Linked DNA regions of Homo sapiens: region 1 is linked to region 2. Evidence: promoter capture Hi-C in 16 types of primary human blood cells and fetal thymus (Javierre and others, 2016). All regions are on one chromosome and are shown on one strand. Each heading gives the region's core, a stretch centred on a gene start or on the middle of the fragment in contact. The rest is flanking DNA. Distances are from core to core; before and after follow the strand shown.

Region 1 (4,965 bases), core at 672-3,171, 200 kb after region 2:
AGAACTCAAACAAAAGAATAGATTCCTCCCTCAATATATTAGGAAAAGGCACATTTAAATGTATGAGACAACAGGGCCAGAACACAAAAGCTGTAAGCAGAGTAAGGTGTATTCTCACTGAAACATGGAAATACATCACAGAATTTAAAAGGCCCATAGCCAGGGGAGGACTTCTGAGCCTAGGACTTTGAGACCTACTTGGGCAACATAGCATGACCCTGTCTCAAAAGAAAAAGGCACGTAACTTTTAACATATCATTTTTAGAAAAAAAAATGTTTATAGTATTAGTATCACTTTCCCTGTAAGGAGAAAAAAAATTAATTAGCTGTGTCAGGGGAAATTTGGATGCTCAAAGATAATTTCTAAGAATTCTATATGAAACATAGCCTACATATGTGTCATGAAAATACACTGAGAGTATGGAACCCATACAATTCCACCTACTTGTACAGGTAATGGAAGGTCTCAGACATCCCATTTTCACTAAAAAGGATTTATTTTTATTTTTTTGAAGAATGGGCAAGAATCCACTACAACAGAAAGGGAGGAGAAGTTCATAGTAAAAGGAATGGAAAGTATAAAGGCATGATGCAAGGAAACAAGTGAAAAGGTATCTTAAGAAAACAGATAATAGGCTGTTTCGAATAGAGTATGAGTATGGGTGAGCACTGCAAAATAGTAGAATAAATTGTTGAGTTGGATCTCATTTGGTAATGCATTTGAAATAAAGGGATTTGCTTTGAACCAAGACTGGTTCTAAGCCTGGAACTACAGAATAAGTTCCAAAATTGGGTGTCTAAGAACTCTGAATACCTCTCCAATATTTACCAGTGGTCAAGTCAAACTCGTTTTGCTCATTAATGGTATAAGTCGGCTGGAGCTGAGAATTGGCATTATAGAGAATGTTTTTGAGACAGAGTCTTGCTCTGTCACCCAGGATGGACTTCAGTGGCATGATCTCAACTCACTGCAACCTCTGCCTCCTGAGTTAAGTGATTCTGCTGCCTCAACCTCCCGAGTAGCTGGCGTTACAGGTACCCGCCACCATGCCTGGATAATTTTTATTTTTTTTAGTAGAGATGGCTTGCACCATGTTGGACAGGCTAGTCTCAAACTCCTGACCTCATGTGTTCTTCCCACCTTGGCCTCCCAAAGTGCTGGGATCACAGGTCACTGCACCCAGCCTAGAGTATTTAATATACATTCATATAAAAAAGAAGCACTGGTTTCATAAAACAAATGTACATTATATGAGATTCCACTTCATAAAAGCATGTATGTGTACCCCAACACTAAATTGGCCCTTTTAACAAAATATCAGACTTTGTCCTACTTAACTGGAAAGATTATCTATATTTTATAAAGAAGAGAAATAACATAATAGTAAGGCTGTGATTTCCTCTTTTTTGCAAAAACTATTTTTGAAAAGTATTACTGAATTGATAACATATATATGGAGAGATTTAAAATACTAGATAAGGGAGCTTATTCCAATGAATTTACAGAAAGGTAGGTATTTTAGTCAACTAAAAATATAAATAAAAATTATCAATTCACTTATTTGGATACAGCAGTCATGCCAGAGTTTATAAATATAGTGAAATCACTGAAGATTTTTTTTTACCCCCAAAACTGAAAAAAATGGCAGTGTACCTTGTGAATTTTTTAAATGAAAAAAGAATACGAAATGATGAAGGCCCTTATCTGATGATGACAAACTAGAAAACTGAAATGTAAAGGGGAAAATGTGAGTATGTGTTTCCCTCCAGCAAATTAAAGACAGGGTACATAGATTCAAGAGGTTGCGCTTTGAGGATAAAAAGCTGGGCCCTGTGCAGTTTTCCAAGACAACCTCTGGGCGCCGCTGTCGACCAAAAGGAAGTGAAGGCTTCTCAATTCTGCAGGAGCGTCAGGCAGGGTGCCTTCCTGCTTTGTCCGGTGCACTGAGCACAGACGCTGCTCCTGTTCACCCTCGAGCGCCTAACTAATAAGTCCTAAGCTCAAATCACAGAAGTCCAGGGTGCTGCCATTTCTTTTTGAAAAACATCCCAGAGGAAAGAAGCTCCGCGGAGAGTTCCTGAAATGCAGAGAGCCAGAGAAGCCGAAATGATGAAAAGTCAGGTACTGTTTCCCTTCCTGCTGTCTTTGTTCTGCGGGGCCATCTCCCAGCAGATCCGATACACGATTCCAGAGGAGCTAGCCAACGGCTCACGGGTGGGGAAACTTGCCAAGGATCTGGGGCTCAGTGTCCGGGAGTTGCCAACTCGAAAACTGCGGGTTAGTGCAGAGGATTATTTCAACGTTAGTTTGGAGAGCGGGGATTTGTTAGTGAACGGTAGGATAGATCGAGAGAAGATTTGCGGAAGGAAACTTGAGTGTGCACTAGAATTCGAAACGGTCGCTGAAAACCCAATGAATGTTTTCCACGTGGTTGTTGTAATCCAAGATATTAATGACAATGCACCACGTTTCGTTGCAAAAGGCATTGACTTAGAAATTTGTGAGTCAGCCTTACCCGGGGTAAAATTCTCTCTGGATTCTGCTCAAGATGCAGATGTGGAAGGCAATTCACTGAAGTTATACACCATCAACCCCAATCAATACTTCTCTCTGTCAACGAAGGAAAGTCCTGATGGAAGTAAATATCCGGTATTACTGCTGGAAAAACCTCTAGACAGGGAACATCAGAGCTCTCATCGCTTAATCCTGACTGCCATGGATGGCGGGGACCCGCCTCTAAGCGGCACCACCCATATCTGGATCCGAGTTACGGATGCCAATGATAATGCTCCCGTGTTTAGCCAGGAGGTATACAGGGTTAGCCTCCAAGAAAACGTACCGTGGGGAACCTCCGTGCTGCGGGTGATGGCCACAGACCAGGATGAGGGCATTAATGCAGAGATCACCTATGCCTTCCTCAATTCCCCAATAAGTACCAGCCTCTTCAATCTCAATCCAAATACTGGCGACATCACAACCAATGGCACATTGGATTTTGAAGAGACAAGTAGATATGTGTTGAGTGTGGAAGCTAAGGATGGAGGAGTACACACAGCTCACTGTAATGTTCAAATAGAAATTGTTGACGAGAATGACAATGCCCCAGAGGTGACATTCATGTCCTTCTCTAACCAGATTCCAGAGGATTCAGACCTTGGAACTGTAATAGCCCTCATAAAAGTGCGAGACAAGGATTCTGGGCAAAATGGCATGGTGACATGCTATACTCAGGAAGAAGTTCCTTTCAAATTAGAATCCACCTCGAAGAATTATTACAAGCTGGTGATTGCTGGAGCCCTAAACCGGGAGCAGACAGCAGACTACAACGTCACAATCATAGCCACCGACAAGGGCAAACCAGCCCTTTCCTCCAGGACAAGCATCACCCTGCACATCTCCGACATCAACGACAATGCACCTGTTTTCCATCAGGCCTCCTATGTGGTCCACGTGTCTGAGAACAACCCACCTGGCGCCTCCATTGCACAAGTAAGCGCCTCCGACCCGGATTTGGGACCCAACGGCAGAGTCTCCTACTCTATTCTGGCCAGTGACCTGGAGCCGCGGGAGCTGTTGTCCTACGTGTCCGTGAGCCCGCAGAGCGGGGTGGTGTTCGCGCAGCGCGCCTTCGACCACGAGCAGCTGCGCGCCTTCGAGCTCACACTGCAGGCCAGGGACCAGGGCTCCCCCGCGCTCAGCGCCAACGTGAGCCTGCGCGTGTTGGTGGGCGACCTCAATGACAATGCGCCACGGGTGCTGTACCCCGCGCTGGGGCCTGATGGCTCCGCCCTCTTCGATATGGTGCCACGCGCCGCAGAGCCCGGCTACCTGGTGACCAAGGTGGTGGCGGTGGACGCAGACTCAGGACACAACGCTTGGCTGTCCTACCACGTGCTGCAGGCCAGCGAGCCCGGGCTCTTCAGCCTGGGGTTGCGCACGGGTGAGGTGCGCACAGCGCGTGCCTTGGGCGACAGGGACGCGGCCCGCCAGCGCCTGCTGGTCGCTGTGCGTGATGGAGGACAGCCGCCACTCTCCGCCACCGCCACGCTGCACCTAATCTTCGCGGATAGCCTGCAAGAGGTATTGCCAGACCTCAGCGACCGCCCTGAGCCCTCTGACCCCCAGACGGAACTGCAGTTTTACCTGGTTGTGGCCTTGGCCTTGATCTCAGTGCTCTTTCTCCTCGCGGTGATTCTAGCGATCGCCCTGCGCCTGCGACGTTCCTCCAGCCTCGACACTGAGGGCTGCTTTCAAACCGGTCTCTGCTCCAAGTCTGGGCCCGGGGTTCCTCCCAACCACAGCGAGGGGACTTTGCCCTATTCCTACAATCTATGTATTGCCTCTCATTCTGCAAAGACAGAGTTTAATTCTCTCAACCTGACACCGGAAATGGCTCCCCCTCAGGATCTGCTGTGTGATGATCCTTCTATGGTTGTATGTGCCAGTAATGAAGATCACAAAATCGCTTATGACCCTTCTTTGTCTTCGCACGTGAGTTTCTGCAAATCTAGTTAAATTTTATATATGGCGGCCGGGCGCGGTGGCTCAAGCCTGTAATCCCAGCACTTAACCAGGCTGAGGCAGGTGGATCACTTGAGGTCAGGAGTTTGAGACCAGCATAGCCAAGATGGTAAAACCCGGTCTACTAAAATTACAAAAATTAGTTGGGTGTGGTGGCACGCGCCTGTAGTCCCAGTTACTCAGGAAGCTGAGACAGGAGGATCGCTTGAGCCCGGGAGGTGGAGATTGTAGTGAGCCAAGAGTGTGCCACTGCACTCCAGCCTGGGTGATGGGAGGGAAACTGTCTAAAAAAACAAACAAACAAAAATTATATATTGCATTTTCTTCTCATTGGTGTATAAGTAATTTTGATTTTCTTTCATTGTTCTAGTGATGGTATCTACTGCGGGAGGGGGTACTAGATAGATGGAGATTGCTTTCTTGATTGCTCAGTAGTCTTGGCA
Region 2 (4,995 bases), core at 2,374-4,873:
AAAACTGACCTCAACCAAATTAATAGTGAAATCGTACAGAGTGGGTTCTCTACGCACAATGAAATTAAACTAAAAATGAATAATGGAAAGATAAGAGGAAAACCTTCAAGTGCACGGATATGTAGCAACATACTTCTAAATAATCTATGAATCAAAAAGAATATCTCAAGGGAAATTTAAAAATACATTGACCTGAATTGAAAGTGAAAATACAACACATCAAATTTTGTGAGACATAGCTAACACAGTGCAGAGAGGAAAATTTTATAGCACTAAATATGTACATTAGAAAAGAGGAAAATTCTCAAACTGGTCACCCACCAGTTTATCAGTTTCAAGCTTCTACCTCGAGAATCTAGAAAAAGATGAGGAAAATAAACCCAAAGCATTCAGAAATAAGGAAATAACAAAGATAATAGAAGAAATCAAGAAAATTCAAAGCAAATAGAGAAAGCAATAAAGAAACAAAGAACTGGTTCTTTGAAAAACATTTTAAAAAATGACAAACCTCTAGCAATACTGACAAAAAGTCTTACCCAATCATTTCAGATTTCAAATGTGATTTAGTATCAAATCCTTTATATTTTCAACTTCCTTGCAACATATCTCCTGTTAATTGAGTTTCTTTAAGTGATTGCTTATATATCATCTCTAACTTTTCCCTGTATTACTATGTTTTTCTTTCTATATAACTAAAGAAGAGTTTTAAGAGATTCAATTTGTCCTTGAAGGTCTTTTCCTTTCTCTTTTGATAAACTTGAATAATTTTTTAAAATTATAATGGGATTAACTGAAACATAAAATGGAAATCAGCTTGATCAGCTATGTAGTACAGGTACAGGTTGGGCATCCCTAATCCAAAAATCCAAAAATAGGAACTGCTCCAAAACCCAAAACTTTTTGAGCCAACCTGATGCCACAAGTAGAAAATTCCACACATAAGTACGTAATGCAAACTTTGTTTCATGCACAAAATTGTTTAAAAATATTAAGCAAAATTACCTTCAGCCTATTTGTATAAGATGTATATGAAACTTAAATGAATTTCATGTTTAGACTTGGTTTTCATTACCAAGATATCCCGGTATGTACATGCAAATATTCTAATATCTAAAAAATCTGAAATCTGAAACACTTCTGGTCTCAAGCATTTTGGACAAGGGCTGTTCAACCTGTCATTACAGGCTAACTAAATAAAATTAATTTTAACATACTTTACAATGTTCAGTCAGTTGAAATACTATTTCAGCTTGCTGGTAACAGTCCAGCTAAATTAATCTATCACTTCACTTTAGCATACATGAGCATAAAGAATATGGGGCATGGTGCTTTTTCACATTGTCTACTTTTCCATCATGTGTCCAGATGAGACCAAGGTTTTGCTCCCCAGTTAACAAAACTGAGCTTCAAAATATGATTAAGATGATTTCCAGTGAATGATGAAAATGTTCCGTATCTTGAAAAAAGTGTGAGTTACACACATGAATCCATTTGTTAAAATGGTACAGTTAAGATTGGTGCATTTCAATTTCTGTAAACATTGCCTTAAGAAAAGAACTATACAAAAGTAATCATTAAGCGGGAAGCAGAGAATGGAGAGAAAGGTATAGACAAAACAAGACAACAGAATGTTGTGAAACTGATTGTGTACAGAGGCTTATTCTGTTTACTTTGTATATGTTAGAATTTTTCCATAATAAAAATTTTAAGTTAATGAGTCCTTGTGAGAACATGTTTACGAATGCAAACTTAATTCAACTCTACTCTAGTCAATCAAATCAAAGCAAAAGAGGGCAACACAGAGAAACATTCTCCTGAAACAATCTAACGTAATCCATTTTCTATAAAAAGGCAGTTTCTTGATAGACCCAACTGATATCTTTTTGGGGTACTTTGAGCTATTATCCTCTTTCTATATAACTACCAATGTTATCAAAGACATTTCAAGGATCTAAATGGAGTTTGACAAATACTGTACTGCTGATAAATTTGCTCTGACGTAAAAAAATAATTCAACAACCTATATTCGAGGATGCCTGGTGGTGCTTCAGAGAAACAGAGTGAATAAAAGACTTTGTGGATGCCGTTAAGCTGGAATCAGAACTCAGAATGCTCACCGAAAGAAGGAAGCATTTAAGATTGAGCAGGAAATAATGGCCTTGTTTCAGCAAAGAGATGACACCAGTCCAATATGTTTATTATTGTTGGTTTATTTCATAATTTCATTTTGTTACATTCTCAAGGAACAGTGTGTTCCCAGTAGCATCTATCAAGTGAACCCTGGAGGCTGGTCACATTCATAATCTTTTGTTTTTCTGGCTACATAGAGGTGATTTTGAACTACAAGATCATCTCAGCTATTCAGAGTTTAGATTTTATTTAGCCTTATTTGTTTTGCCTAGCATTTATGTATTTGAAAATATCTTGATTTTTAATCTTCTATCACCTTGGCCCTTACCTGAAGTGAACTTTGTTTGAACTCAATTGATTTCACCTCTCAATAAATATGAAATTAATCTGAAATGAATTGAATTGTTTGGCATATTTTACCTCTTCTATGTGCACTAATCTATTTCACACATTTTCAGTTTGTTTAGAGATACATGTTCCAATGTATCTGAGTAGAAACTAGTGAGATGGGAATGGATATAGCCATAATATTCCATCATTGAATTCCATGGCATTCACTCAAATGTAACTCACCTGTTTTAACAGTACCTTAATTTGGCCTGTATTTATTGGACTTGGTGTTCTTTTTGCTGTGAGAAGACGGTGAAGGTGATTCTTGAATGTTTGTTTTCTGTGTTGCATCATGTTTGTACAACACGGTAATATATTTGGACCTTGATTAAATAATGTAAGAGGGGAATTTGATCAAAAAATAAAATGCACAAGACTGTTAAAACAATGTCTAATTCTATCCATGCAAAAATGGAGTAGAATCCTAAAATGCTTATGACAACTACTTGATTGCTTCTAGTCCCTCTTTTAAATACTTTAATTTACTTAGATACATGTATCATACGTACTTCTTGGCCTCAGTTTTCCTCCTAATAGCCTAATTGTTCTTTTTACTGTGCAGGCATAACTATATAACAAAGTAGGTTTTTTTTTTCATGCCATTTATGAGTCATATAATTTAGATAATTTATTGTTTATTTTACCATTATTGTTGCTAACAAACTTCGTTGTTTTGCATTGTTTGTTGGGACAATTAAATAGTGTACCTCTTGGACTAATAGATTAAATAGTTCATCAGAGATAAATTGCACTGCTGAAGCATCAAAGGAGAAAGACTGAAGTGTAGAATCTGCACTTCAATCTTTCTCCTTAATTAGCACCACCAGGGAATTTGATTCAAGTTCTAGAGGGGAGTGAACCCAGGAATTGGCTTAAAAACAAAAACATACACACAAAAAAACCAACGCTCGCAAGCAATTATTTATGCATGCGGTCCACGCACTCAGTTTGAGAAACACTGACTCGACTTAAAAGTCTTTATAATGCTCAGATTTCTGAAATGCTATTGACCTGAAAACATCTCATGAAGTTATTAGTTTGAACGCGTGGTGGCGGTACAAGCTAAGAGAGTGAATGAAAGCTCTGCAGACTCGGTGGACTCCGTTTCATCCAGAAGCCAAGTAAAAATACAGACCACGTTTACAGCTAAAGCTGAGATAGATGTGTCCGGGAAGGCAGTCGTCGCCAGACAAGTTGTAAGAACGAATTTAAAAATCTCTGCAAAGACATCCGAGAGGGTCGACGGTAGATGTGGTGATTGGGAGCTGAAAAGGATTTTTCTTCCGTATTCAGACATAATAGACATGATGCAAACTAAAGTACAGAACAAGAAAAGGCAAGTGGCTTTCTTCATTTTATTGATGCTTTGGGGAGAGGTGGGTTCTGAATCGATTCAGTATTCCGTATTGGAGGAGACAGAAAGTGGCACGTTTGTGGCCAACTTGACAAAGGACCTGGGACTGAGGGTGGGGGAGCTGGCTTCGCGGGGCGCTCGGGTTGTTTTCAAAGGGAACAGACAACATTTGCAGTTTGATCCACAGACCCATGATTTACTGCTAAATGAAAAACTGGACCGGGAGGAGCTGTGTGGCTCCACTGAGCCGTGTGTGCTACCTTTCCAAGTGTTACTGGAAAACCCCTTGCAGTTTTTTCAGGCTTCCTTGCGAGTCAGAGATATAAATGACCACGCCCCGGAATTCCCTGCCAGAGAAATGCTCCTGAAAATATCAGAAATTACTATGCCAGGAAAGATATTTCCTTTGAAAATGGCACACGATTTAGACACCGGCAGCAACGGCCTTCAGAGGTACACAATCAGCTCCAACCCTCACTTCCACGTTCTCACCCGCAATCGCAGCGAAGGCAGGAAGTTCCCGGAGCTGGTGCTAGACAAACCGTTGGACCGCGAGGAGCAGCCCCAACTCAGGCTAACGCTGATCGCGCTGGATGGCGGGTCTCCGCCCCGGTCAGGGACCTCCGAGATTCAGATCCAGGTTTTGGACATCAATGACAACGTCCCCGAGTTTGCTCAGGAGCTCTATGAAGCACAAGTCCCTGAGAACAACCCCCTCGGCTCTCTGGTTATTACCGTCTCAGCCAGAGATTTAGATGCAGGATCGTTTGGGAAGGTATCTTACGCCCTGTTTCAAGTCGATGACGTCAACCAACCCTTCGAAATAAACGCAATCACAGGAGAAATTCGGCTGAGAAAGGCTTTGGATTTTGAGGAAATTCAGTCTTATGACGTGGATGTTGAGGCTACAGATGGTGGAGGCCTATCAGGAAAATGCTCTTTAGTCGTCAGGGTCCTGGACGTGAATGACAATGCCCCTGAACTCACCATGTCGTTCTTCATCAGCCTCATCCCAGAAAACTTACCAGAGATCACAGTGGCAGTTTTCAGTGTTTCAGATGCAGACTCTGGACATAACCAACAGGTTATTTGTTCAATAGAGAACAATCTCCCCTTTCTAC

Evidence for each region. The method cuts DNA at HindIII sites, captures the fragments that hold promoters and counts their contacts. A CHiCAGO score of 5 or more calls a contact.
Region 1: a contact is called between the fragment with the promoter of PCDHGB1 here and the fragment with the promoter of PCDHB6 in region 2, in 10 of 17 cell types (M1 macrophages, M0 macrophages, erythroblasts and 7 more). The highest score is 14.0, in M1 macrophages.

What each region holds. Positions count from the first base shown.
Region 1 is chr5:141,348,178-141,353,142 of GRCh38, forward strand. It overlaps PCDHGB1 (protocadherin gamma subfamily B, 1), which reads left to right and starts at 1,922. Exons shown (of 4, transcript NM_018922.3): 1 at 1,922-4,492. The coding sequence starts at 2,084. All of the region lies in intron 1 of PCDHGA1 (protocadherin gamma subfamily A, 1), which reads left to right. The region is part of intron 1 of PCDHGA2 (protocadherin gamma subfamily A, 2); the gene reads left to right. All of the region lies in intron 1 of PCDHGA3 (protocadherin gamma subfamily A, 3), which reads left to right. It also overlaps PCDHG@. The HindIII fragment of the contact is 7,439 bases long and covers 1-4,965 here.
Region 2 is chr5:141,146,434-141,151,428 of GRCh38, forward strand. PCDHB6 (protocadherin beta 6) reads left to right here and starts at 3,624. Exons shown (of 1, transcript NM_018939.4): 1 at 3,624-4,995. The coding sequence starts at 3,825. It also overlaps PCDHB@. The HindIII fragment of the contact is 6,099 bases long and covers 338-4,995 here.